Regions from separate parts of the Homo sapiens genome. Here all the other regions are linked to region 1. The links are contacts of gene promoters, found by promoter capture Hi-C in blood cells and fetal thymus (Javierre and others, 2016). All regions are on one chromosome and are shown on one strand. The core of a region is centred on a gene start or on the middle of the fragment in contact, and the rest is flanking DNA. Distances in the headings are between cores, read along the strand shown.

The links. Contacts are between HindIII fragments. The CHiCAGO score rates a contact against its expected background, and 5 or more counts as called.
Region 2: a fragment that was not itself captured here is called in contact with the fragment with the promoter of CREB1 in region 1 in 1 of 17 cell types (neutrophils); the score reaches 5.3 in neutrophils.
Region 3: a contact is called between a fragment that was not itself captured here and the fragment with the promoter of CREB1 in region 1, in 1 of 17 cell types (neutrophils). The highest score is 5.8, in neutrophils.
Region 4: a contact is called between the fragment with the promoter of ZDBF2 here and the fragment with the promoter of CREB1 in region 1, in 1 of 17 cell types (fetal thymus). The highest score is 6.2, in fetal thymus.

What each region holds. Positions count from the first base shown.
Region 1 is chr2:207,528,542-207,531,241 of GRCh38, reverse strand. It overlaps CREB1 (cAMP responsive element binding protein 1), which reads right to left and starts at 1,280. Exons shown (of 8, transcript NM_004379.5): 1 at 1,108-1,280. LOC124907970 (a long non-coding RNA gene) reads left to right here and starts at 1,645. Exons shown (of 3, transcript XR_007088060.1): 1 at 1,645-1,806; 2 at 2,629-2,700. RefSeq lists silencers at 1-141, 852-901, 932-1,061, 1,732-1,911 and enhancers at 1,152-1,251, 1,512-1,711. The HindIII fragment of the contact is 5,804 bases long and covers 1-2,700 here.
Region 2 is chr2:206,166,381-206,169,080 of GRCh38, reverse strand. No RefSeq gene overlaps it. Among named protein-coding and RNA genes, the nearest start is that of SNORA41, 5.5 kb to the right of the region's middle. The HindIII fragment of the contact is 5,085 bases long and covers 1-2,700 here.
Region 3 is chr2:206,149,658-206,152,357 of GRCh38, reverse strand. NDUFS1 (NADH:ubiquinone oxidoreductase core subunit S1) reads left to right here. Exons shown (of 19, transcript NM_005006.7): 4 at 2,433-2,540. Among named protein-coding and RNA genes, the nearest start is that of NDUFS1, 8.4 kb to the left of the region's middle. The HindIII fragment of the contact is 605 bases long and covers 1,028-1,632 here.
Region 4 is chr2:206,273,375-206,276,074 of GRCh38, reverse strand. ZDBF2 (zinc finger DBF-type containing 2) reads right to left here and starts at 1,412. Exons shown (of 5, transcript NM_020923.3): 1 at 1,129-1,412. RefSeq lists an enhancer at 555-1,054 and silencers at 718-1,177, 1,458-1,517. The HindIII fragment of the contact is 6,855 bases long and covers 1-2,191 here.

The sequences.
Region 1 (2,700 bases), core at 31-2,530:
ACCCAAACGCGGTTGGCAAGGTTGCACCCCGCGAAATGATGTAAAACAAGAGTACATCGGCTGATACTCGTTCCAACGAAGTGTTTCAGAATGATAGATCTCAAGTGATGATTACCTTATTAAAAAGGGTTAAAACCGAAACTGTTTTCAAACACCAGCTTCCCTTTTATAAGATCCCAACAGTTTAAAAAGTTATTATAAATGTTTTTCTTAGCACCCTTTCTCCCAAAAAGCATGCATTTCCATGACTGACTTTAAAAAAAAAAAAAAAGCAAAGGGGTGAGGGAGTCAAAAATTCCCCCCAAAAGCACAAGCTCTCATCTCTCAACTAAGCAACACAGGGCAGAAAGCAGCATTTCCTCAACGGTGTAGGAGCGGGGGGGAAAGGGCACGAATAAAATACAGCACGAGAGGAAACCTTGGGTTTCGAACTTTATTGCACAAAGAGTGGAGAGAAGAGTAGGTCAGACGTTGCAGCTCTTCCCCTTGCGAAGCGGGCATGGCAGGCACCGAAGCCACCGGGAAGGCAGCAGGCACCTTCACCTCCTCTGCCCTCAACTGTCGCCTTCTTCCTCCTCCATCCCCCACCGGCACCTAGGCGGCGGCTGCCCCGGAGGCCCGGCCGGGTCGGGCCGGGGGCGAGGCGGGCGGCGGGGGCCGGACGAGCGAGCGGCGCGGGGGGCAGCGCCGGGCCGAGCGGGCGGCCTCCCCCGGGGCGGCTCCGGGTTCCCGGCTCCGCGCCCGGCCCGGCGGCGGCGGCGGGAACGCGGGCGCCAGCTCGCCGCGGCCGGCCGCCCGCACACACCCCCGGCCGCCGGCTCCCACCCCGCCCGCCGCCCGCCGCCCGCCGCCCCCCGCCATGAGCGCCGCCGCTGGCTGCAGGCAGAGTCGCTGCCGCCCCGGCCGCCGCTGGCTCCAGTCCGCCGCCATTATTCTTTGTTCGCTGCGAGCGGCGGCGATGTTGTGGGGCTCGGGCGGAGGCTCCATCTTTACCGCGGCCCCTCCTGCGAGGGGAAGGCCCCAAGCGCGGGTGTCCGGCGCCTCCCCGTCCCCCCTCCGTCCCCCCGGCTCTCTCTGGCTCCTGCCTCCTCCTCCTGCTCCTCTTACCGGTGGTACAAGCTCCTCCGTCACTGCTTTCGTTCACGGCCCGGATCTCGCTGGAGTTTTATTCTCTCCCCCACGTAACACACCGCGTCAAACTACACCTCCGCCGCGTCACTCACCAACACTCCGCTTCTCCCAGCCGCCCGGGCCACAGGCAGCAGCAGCCGCCGCCGACTGAGGAGCCGCAGCCAGGGAGCCAGCCAGCGCCGCCCAGTGCCGAGTGCGCAGCGGCCGCGCACGGAAACAGCCGAGCTAGGCCCGGAGCAGCTCGAGCGGCCCCGCCCCCGCGCTGGGGACGGAACTTGCCGAAGACCTTCGGGTTTCTTCGGGCGACGAGAAGGGGTTCCGCGGGGAGAGGGAAGGCGAAGGCGGGCTGAGCCCGGCGCCGGGAGGAGTGGTCTAAACTCCACCGCGGCTTTCGCATCGGTAAAGCCGGCAGCGGAAATTTGAAGGAGGAAGCGGGGTTTGTGTGTGGCCCAGTGGGGGAATTCCCGAGGGGTGTCGGCGACTTGGTGGAAACCCCCGCTCAGGCCTGCCCCTGCGGCGGTGAGCGGCGGGCTAGAAGGCGGCTGCGGCTGCCCTGGCTCTGCTCTTGACCGCCGCCAGCCCCGGGAACTTTCCGACGCCGCCGGGAGACGGGGGACGGGCAGCCCGGGCTGGGACGCGGCCGGACCGCTGGAGCCGTGCGGGCTGGGGAAGAAGGTCTGCTGCGCCTCTGCCAACGTCCCGGGGCCTGGGACCCGGGGGCGTCGTGGGACCCCCGTGGGGACGGGTTTTCCTTTCCGAGACTCCGCGGAGAAACCTGGCGGCCGCCAGCGGAGCATGCTTTTCCGGGGGGCGCTGGCCCCGATACTGTGGCACCTTGCGGGGCTCTGCCCGGACCATGGCTGACGTCGACGGCCCTCGGAGGCCTCCAAGCCACACAACCTGCCCGGACCCCTGGAAATATGCCCCATCCTACCTCCCCGCCTTTCTCCAGACAACATCCTGTGTCGCTTTCTTTCCTCAGCCTGTTTTCTACAGCAGGGATTCGCACCCACTGCACCCTAAACCCAGCAGGGGGACTTCCGTGGCTGGAAACTACTGAATTGTTCTTTCAGAGGTCTCTCAGGACGGCACCACTAGGTCCCCATTCTCCTTGATAGTGAACTCTGCAGCCCTCTCCTTGGGGTTTCAAGTCTTTTTTTTTTTTTTTTTTTTTTTAATGAGACGGAGTCTAGCCCTTGTCGCCCAGGCTGGAGTGCAGTGGCACGATCTCGGCTCACTGCAACCTCCGCCTCCCGGTTTCGAGCGATTCTCCTGCCTCAGCCTCCCTAGTAGCTGGGATTACAGGCACCTGCCACCACACCTGGCTAATTTTTGTGTTGTTAGTAGAGACGGGGTTTCACCATGTTGGCCAGGCTGGTATGGAACTCCTGACCTCAGGTAATCCACCCGCCTCGGCCTCCTAAAGTGGTGGGGTTACACGTATGAGCCACCGCGCCCGGCCTCAAGTCTTAATCATTCTTTTTCTGTCCTTTAAAGGAGACGTGTCTTTAGGAAGCAGAGAGGGTTCGATTCTGGACTCCGCCCATGACTCACTTCTCTTGTAAAGAA
Region 2 (2,700 bases), core at 24-2,523, 1.4 Mb after region 1:
GAAGCTGCCAAGGCTTGGGGCTTGCACCCTCTGTCTGAAGCCATGGCCCGAGCTCTACATTGGCCCTTCAGCCATGGCTGGAGCAGCTGGGACACAGGGCACCAAGTTCCTAGGCTGCACACAGCACAGGGACCCTGGGCCCAGCACACGAAACCACTTTTTCTTTCTAGGCCTCCAGGCTTGTGATGGGAAGGGCTGCCATGAAGACCTCTGATGTACCCTGGAGACATTTTCCCCTTGTCTTGGTGATTAACATTTGGCTCCCTGTTACTTATGCAAATTTCTACAGCTGACTTGACTTTCTCCTCAGAAAATGAGATTTTCTTTTTTATTGCATTGTCAGGCTGCAAATTTTCCAAACTTTTATGCTCTGCTTCCCTTATAAAACTGAACGCCTTTAACAGCACCCAAGTCACCTCTTGAATGCTTTGCTGCTTAGAAATTTATCCCACCAGATACCCTAAATCATGGGTAAAACATATCCATGACTGGGTATCACGAGAACAGCACAAGAAAGACCTGCCCCCATGATTCTATTGCCTCCTGCCAGGTCCCTCCCCACAACACGTGGAAATTCAAGATGAGATTTGGGTGGGGACACAGCCAAACCATATCATGGCAGAAGAAATTTCTAAGCAGCAAAGCATGCAAGGGGTGACTTGGGTGCTGTTAATGGCATTCAGTTTTATAAGGACGCAGCGCATAACAGTTTGGAAAATTTGCAGCCTGACAATGCAATAGAAAAGAAAATCTCATTTTCTGAGGAGAAATCCAAGCTGGCTGCAGAAATTTGCATAAGTAATGAGGAACCAAATATTAATCACCAAGACAATGGTGAAAAATGTCTCTAGGACATGTCAAAAAAACCTTTGCAGCAGCCCCTCCTATCACAGGCCCAAAGGCCTGGGAGGAAAAAGTGGTTTCATGGGCCGGGCCCAGGGTCCCCGTGCTGTGTGCAACCTAGGGACTTGGTGCACTGCATCCCAGCCACTCCAGCCATGGTTGAAAGGGTCCAGCGTAGAGCTTGGGCCATGGCTTCAGAGGGTTCAAGCCTCAAGCCTTGGCAGCTTCCATGTAGTGTTGAGCCTGTGAGTGGACAGACATCAAGAATTGAGGTTTGAGAACCTCTGCCTAGAACAGTGTTTTAGTGTTTAAGTCTCAATTTACACAAGGTAAAATTTACCCTTATGTGATATTTTCTTATCCCTCACCATATTTTCTTATCACCTCACCTCACCTCATCATATTCATGAGAATATGAAGCAAGGATTACACTGATGAAATAGGATTAAACTGTCTAAAAGCAGGGATGAAGAACCTTCCGTATTCTGTTACCAACACATCAACTGGCCTATGAAGACCCTGGCTTGTGTTCCTCCTCTGTCACTTACTAGTGACTTAGTATATTTACTGAATAATCATGGACAAATAAGCATATCTTTTCATAGTAATAGTCCATGAAATATCAAGCATTTCTCAATGTTGCTATAGACTTACTTTTAAAAACAAAGTTTAGGCTGGGCGTGGTGGCTCACGCCTGTAATCCCAGCACTTTGGGAGGCCGAGATGGGCAGATCACTTGAGGTTAGGAGTTCAAGACCAGCCTGGCCAACATGGCAAAACTTCATCTCTACTAAAAATACAAAAATTAGCCGGGCATTGTGGCGCACACAAGTAATCCCAGCTACTTGGGAGGCTGAGGCAGGGGAATCGCTTGAACCTGGGAGGTGGAGGTTGCAATGAGCCAACATCGCACCACGGCACGCCAGCCTGGGCAATAGAGCGAGACTCCATCTCAAAAAAATAAATAAAGTTTATAAAACATTTCATTGAATACATATGCCATAATTTAGACATTTCCATCTGTGAGGATTATAAGTCATCTGATCTCCTTGCTTTCATTCGTATCACCTCCAGATCAAAGCTGTCTTAACATTAATATTCTCTGGTTTGGAAACCTCATATAATGTGCCAGCCTGTAATTCAAATATGTCTACAGGCTGGCCCCATCCTATCTAAGATTCCAAACACACACTGCAAAATCTCACGAATTTGTCTAATTGCTTCCCAAATCTTTATATCTGATTCTTCCAAAAAACTTGTCATCAATTCTAGCCGTCTCTGACCTTCTGAACTTTTAGATTATTTGCTTAATCCCCAAACCAATGACTTTTATTTTTAACAATTTTATGTTTGAATTGCCTCCCTATACTAATTTTCTCTTCTTCTGTGTTTTTTTGTTTCATCTAACAAAGTGATACGGAAGGAATCAGTTTTGAGTTCCCACACTGCCCAGCCCTCTGCTAGGGATGCCGAACATGAAAAATATTGTTTCAGGCTGGACACGTTGGCTCATACCTGTAATCCCAGTACCTTGGAAGGCCAAGGTGGAAGGATCACTTGAGTCCAGGAGTTCAAAGCCTGGGCATCATAGCAAGACCCCATCTCTAAAAAAATTTTTTTAAATTAGCTGGGTATGGTGGCACATGCCTGTAGTCCCAGCTACTCAGTAGGCTGAGGTAGAATTGCTTAAGCCTAGGAGTTCAAGGCTGCAGTGAGCCGTGATCATGCCACTGCACTCCAGCCTGGATGATAGATTGAGACCCTGTCTCAAAAAAAAAAAAAAAAAGAAAAGAAAAACTTTCATAGTCATTATAATCATTTATGGGGCATGCAAAAAAAAAAAAAGTGGGCTCTTTT
Region 3 (2,700 bases), core at 81-2,580, 1.4 Mb after region 1:
TTTCCTTTATACTGATTATTAGTAAATAATTCTTTAAAATAACTATACACAGCAAAGTTATATTAAAATTATTTCATTTTAAATCTTGGCACTTCAAAGTGAGCTATCATATATTTGTTTGTGGCATTTTTAGTGAATTATGGTAGTTCTTTTGTTTCACTTTTCATTCCAAATGAATACCCATTAAGAAATTTGAAGTCCGAGCGCAGTGGCTCATGCCTGTAATCCCAGCACTTTGGGAGGCCGAGGCGGGCGGATCATTCAGGAGTTCTAGACCAGCCTGGCCAGCACTGTGAAACCCCTTCTCTACTAAAAATACAAAAAATTAGCTGCGCATCGTGGCGCGCACCTGTAATCCCAGCTACTCGAGAGGCTGAGGCAGGAGAATTGCTTGAACCCAGGAGGCGGAGGTTGCAGTGAGCCGAGATTGTGCCACTGCACTCCAGCCTGGGCAACAGAGCAAGACTCTGTCTCAAAAAAAAAGAAAAGAAATTTGAAGTAACTTAAATTAGTTACTATAGGTAAGTTTGTGAAAAAATAACCTCCATTTGTTGTGGGCCTGCTTAATGCTTTTCATTTTCATATAACCTTTCTGTGGTTAGTAATATTCATAGGAATATATCCTACAAAGCAGGTAAATGGAGGGTAGCATGTGCTTACATTCATGCTCTAAATATTTCTTCATATTCCTCCAGAAATAATAAATTGGTCATAGAGAAGTCATGCTTCACTCCATTTGTAAGTTGTCACAGATCTAAATGTTCTTTGTTCATTTTAGCAGTCATTTCTAGACTATCTGCCAGTCACAGACATGAAAGCACAAAATATGATATAAATGTATGTTCAAGGTACAGTGAAAAGTTGTGGCAGGGATAGGAGGTAGTAGAAAGAGGTATTGGGTGCCTCAGGTCATCCCTGAGGAGGTGTTAAAGGATGAACAGGTGTGTTCATATTGTGAACAAGAACGACATGCTTGCATTTCCTATGGAAAAAGTTAAGGCAGATAGCTTGTCATATTTTGAAAGCTTCAAATAGTTTAATATTGATGAAACATAAGGTATAAGTAGAAGATGAGATCACAGGAAATCAAGTTATTGAGGAAGGGAAGGTCCAGTCATGAAATACAGTATCTGCTATGCAGAAGAGCTTATATTTTGATCCATCAGGAGTTTTGTTGCCTATTTAAACAGGGTGACAGCGACTGTAGAGGATGATCATTTGGAGAATAGCAAGACTGGAATAAGAGACAAGGAAAAAGCATTTTGTATTATTGGGACAGGATACTACAAAAGCCCTAAAATAGATAGTGTCAATGGGAATGAAAACAAGAGAGTAGATTCAAGGGAGAATGAAATGTAGACAGGCCTTCAGGAATGATGAAGACCCGAGGGATTTTTTCCCCCGTCGTACAGAACTTCCCAATATTGCTTTAACAGTGAGAAAAAAAAAACACAAAAGAAGTTTCAGTAGAGCCACAGACAAATAGTTCTTTAGAACTCAAAGAGACCGGAGGAATTCTTGTGGTTTTCTGCATTTGTTAGGTTATTTTGGAGTGTATAGAGGGGAGAGAAATCATTTGAATTTAAGCTGTCTGTGGAACATACACATGCAAATACCTGTAAATCTGAAGCTTGGAGAAGTGGAGGTCTAACATGGCTGCAGATTAAGGTTTGGACATAATCAGCATAAGGAATGTCAGCTAGGATGAAGGCTGGGACACTATCTGTCTTTTTCACTACTATACCTGCATCCTGCACAAAGGAAAGACTCAACACATTTTTGCTAACTAAATAGTTTAAACACTGGAAATTGATGAGATTGCTTTAGAATGAAGGCTGAGGATGAGGAACTAACTCTAGAGGAAATTTGAACATGTTTATAGACTAAAAGGAGGAAGAAATTGCAGAGCAGGGTAGGTGATAATTGGCAGAGCAGGGATAATCCCCCTTACTGGGCAAACAGAAACTGGGAAAACCTTCAGCCACAGTGGGAGGTGAGTCCTGGGTAGCATATAGGAGCCAAAGACAGATAGCCAGCTAGATAATGTGTAGTGAAATCTCTAATCCAAAGGAGGGGAGCGAGGCAAAGAAGAAGTCCAGGTATGAAACCACTGGGGACATTGTGGACAATGGTTCAAAATGGATGTGGGAAGTCAAGTCTTCAGCACAGTGGAAGGATACTTTATCCAGTTTCTTCCACATAAGGTGAAGTCACGCCAAGGATCCTGAGATCCTCTGAGGCAGCTTCAGAGGAGACGGGTTAGAATCAAAGGCAAAGAAAGGGACTGAAATAAGAATGAATTAAGATAGATAGATAGATAGATAGATAGATAGAAGTAATAAGATGCTGTATGTGTGTGTTTCAGCAATAACAGCAGTGAAGTCAGGTTATTCTAATGCTTTTTTTTTTTTTTTTTTTTTTTTTACTTCTAGGCTTGTGAGAAGGTTGGCATGCAGATCCCTCGATTCTGTTATCATGAAAGGTTGTCTGTTGCTGGAAACTGCAGGATGTGCCTTGTTGAAATTGAGAAAGCCCCTAAGGTACTTGATACCTAAAATTCTACACCATGCTGTAGAAGGTAGAAAACTTTAAATCTTGCAGCAAACTTTATTTAGAATCAATATCGTAGTGGAGAACCTAGCCCTCTTTACTTCTATCTATAAATTTAATTCTTTTGTACAATTGATTCTCTTCATTTCA
Region 4 (2,700 bases), core at 163-2,662, 1.3 Mb after region 1:
CGGCTGAAAAAACTCAGTTTGAAAAAACACTGCCTCCAATTATTATGCAGAGTAAACCATATTTTATAGAAACCAGTTCTTACCCTGAATTCAGCTTATTTCTATCCAAATCACTGGCCACTGCAGTGATACTTTATCAACTCTCTAACGAGTTGCTTTCTTGCCTTCTAGGCTTTAGGTTCAAACGATAGAGAAAAGGTCTTCCACGTATTAAGTGAAAAAAGCAAATAAACACCCCTTATGTAACACACGTATATATGTTTGTGTATTAATTAAAAAGGAAGGAAAGATACCCCCCAAATTGTTAGCAGATTCTCTCGAGGATGAGATCGCTACAGGCTGCCTCCATCGTCCCTCCCCCTCCCCACACGTAGCATATTGCTGTAAAAAAGAAAAACAAAAACAAGCTATTTCCTTTAGGTGGGGGTGGGGTTTTGGTCCCTTGAGAACCAGTATCTTGTTATGCATTTTTTTCACGAGCTACCAAGAATCATCGCGTGAGATAATCGCAGGAGCTGGTAAGGCCCTTCTTAGGAGCAAGTAAAAACGATGGCGTAACACGACCACATTTACACAACTGTTGCACGGCGGTAGTAAAAGAATCATTAACACAAAAATCAAACGTTTTCAAATAAACTATAATCGCCCGAGGCTGGGAAAGGCCTAGGTCTGGGGCCAGCTGGACCCAACGCAGGGCACTGGGGGAAGGGGGTGTGTGGACAGGTGGCTCGGGATCTCGGCCCCACAGGTGCCCAGGGGCAAGACTCCGCGGGTTCCCGGCCCTCAATCCGACCCCGCAGACCGCCCCCTCCCCAAGCCCGGACCCGAGGCCTCGTCCGCCGGCCCCTCTGACCCAGGGCCCCGGACAGAAGCGCAATGCAGCCTGCGCCCCACCTCCTTCCCTCGCCCCGCCACCTCGATCCCGGCCCGGAGCCGCCGACACCTCTCACGCAGCAGGGGCAGAAAGGGACGCGGGGTGGGGGGAAGCCGAGGACCTGCGAGGCGGCCGCGGGAGCCCAGCGAGCGGTCCTGGCGTCCCTCGGGAAGAAGGCGCCCCGGGCGCCCGGCGAGCAGGCCCCGCCCGCGGGCGTCGCCCCGGCCGCGCCCCGCCCCCGCCGCGGCACTCACCTCCGCGGAGGCTGCCCGGATTCCTTCCGGGCCGCGGTGGAGACCGAGGACCGAGCCGGGCGCTCTCCCTTCTTATTCCGGTTCCGCGGCGGCGCCCGAATCCCAGACCGTCCGAGCGCCACGGCCCCGCTGCCCGCGGAGCCAGAAATAGGCGACTTCGGCCCCTGCGGTCCGGAGGCGAGAAGCGGCGCGGGAGCGCGTCTCTCAGGACGCGGGCCCCGAGTCGCGACTCCACTCACGCAGGCATCCAAGGCAACGTGGCGTTGCAACCCTGATGGAGGTTTGACGTCAGGGAAGGTGCGAAAACCAGACCCCTTCTGACGCAGGAGCGGCGGGACCGCCCCCTGCCCGCCCACCCACTCACTCACTCTCCCACCCGGGCGGAGGAGCCCCTTCCTCCCCTCCAGAAGCTCTTAAAGCGGACACTTCCTCCCTGGTCAGGGCCCCACTCCGGAGCTTGGGAAATCTATCGCGTTCCAACAAAAATGACTAGACTCATAAGCACAGTTGGGACGCGAAGTAGAGACCAAGGTTTTAGCGTTTGAGGGTCCAAATAAAAACTGCTTGCCAATTCAAAGCAACGTATGAATGTAGAAAAGAAAACGGGGCTAAGAGAGCTAGTCGTTTCCGTTTCCATGCCTATTTCATAGTGAGGTGCATCTCACAAAAGCTGCTGTTCAATGAGCGCTTGCTCTGTGCTAGGCACCGTTTAAGGTTTCTATACATTATTGCATTTCATTTCAGAGTAACTCTGAATGAATCCTATTATTGTCCCCCTTTGACAAATTGAGAAAACTGAGGCTTAAGGAAGTTAGGTATTCAAAGATCTATCCTGCACATTAAAGGGTTACAAATATTAACAAACAACATTAGGTCATGCAATTATATTCACTGCGCTACCCCATTACGAATATAGTTGTGAGCAAAAACAGTTTAAGTGTAACGGAGATCACAAACCTAAATGAATCACACTACTGAATATGAAATTATAATCTGCGATAAGAAGGTTCTGAAACACCTAAACCAATTTTACTAAAATGGAGAGAGGCCCTGTTGCAAAGCTTATGTCTAATGTAAAAATAATCTTAAAATGAGCTACTTTGCTCTTTGGCTGTAGCTGTAATTGTCGTTACCCTTTTTAGTAAGCTTGTGATTTTGTCCCTTTAAAGAACAACAACAAAAAAACTTGCCTATTGCTTTTGCGTCCATTGTTTTTATTCTTTCTGTATTTCTCAGCTCCTTCTTCCCCCACTACATCTTTCTCTCACTTTAAAGTTGGGCTCCTGCAACTGTTCGATTTATAACCTCCCTTAGATTTAACATACCAAAAAGTACGGATTTCTTTTAAGGCAAGTTTTTTCCACATCCCAACTTTGGAATTATAGAAAATCCACTATACATTGATCGAAGCACCATGACATTATGTATTTCACAGATGCTAAGCCATGTTTTTCCCCACATTTTAACATCTGTGAAATCAAGATGCATCTTATAAACTCTCGTTGACCGGGTGGCAGTACAGACCTGGTTGTCATTACCTCCACGTATTACAACGTGGATGTTGCTGTGCAG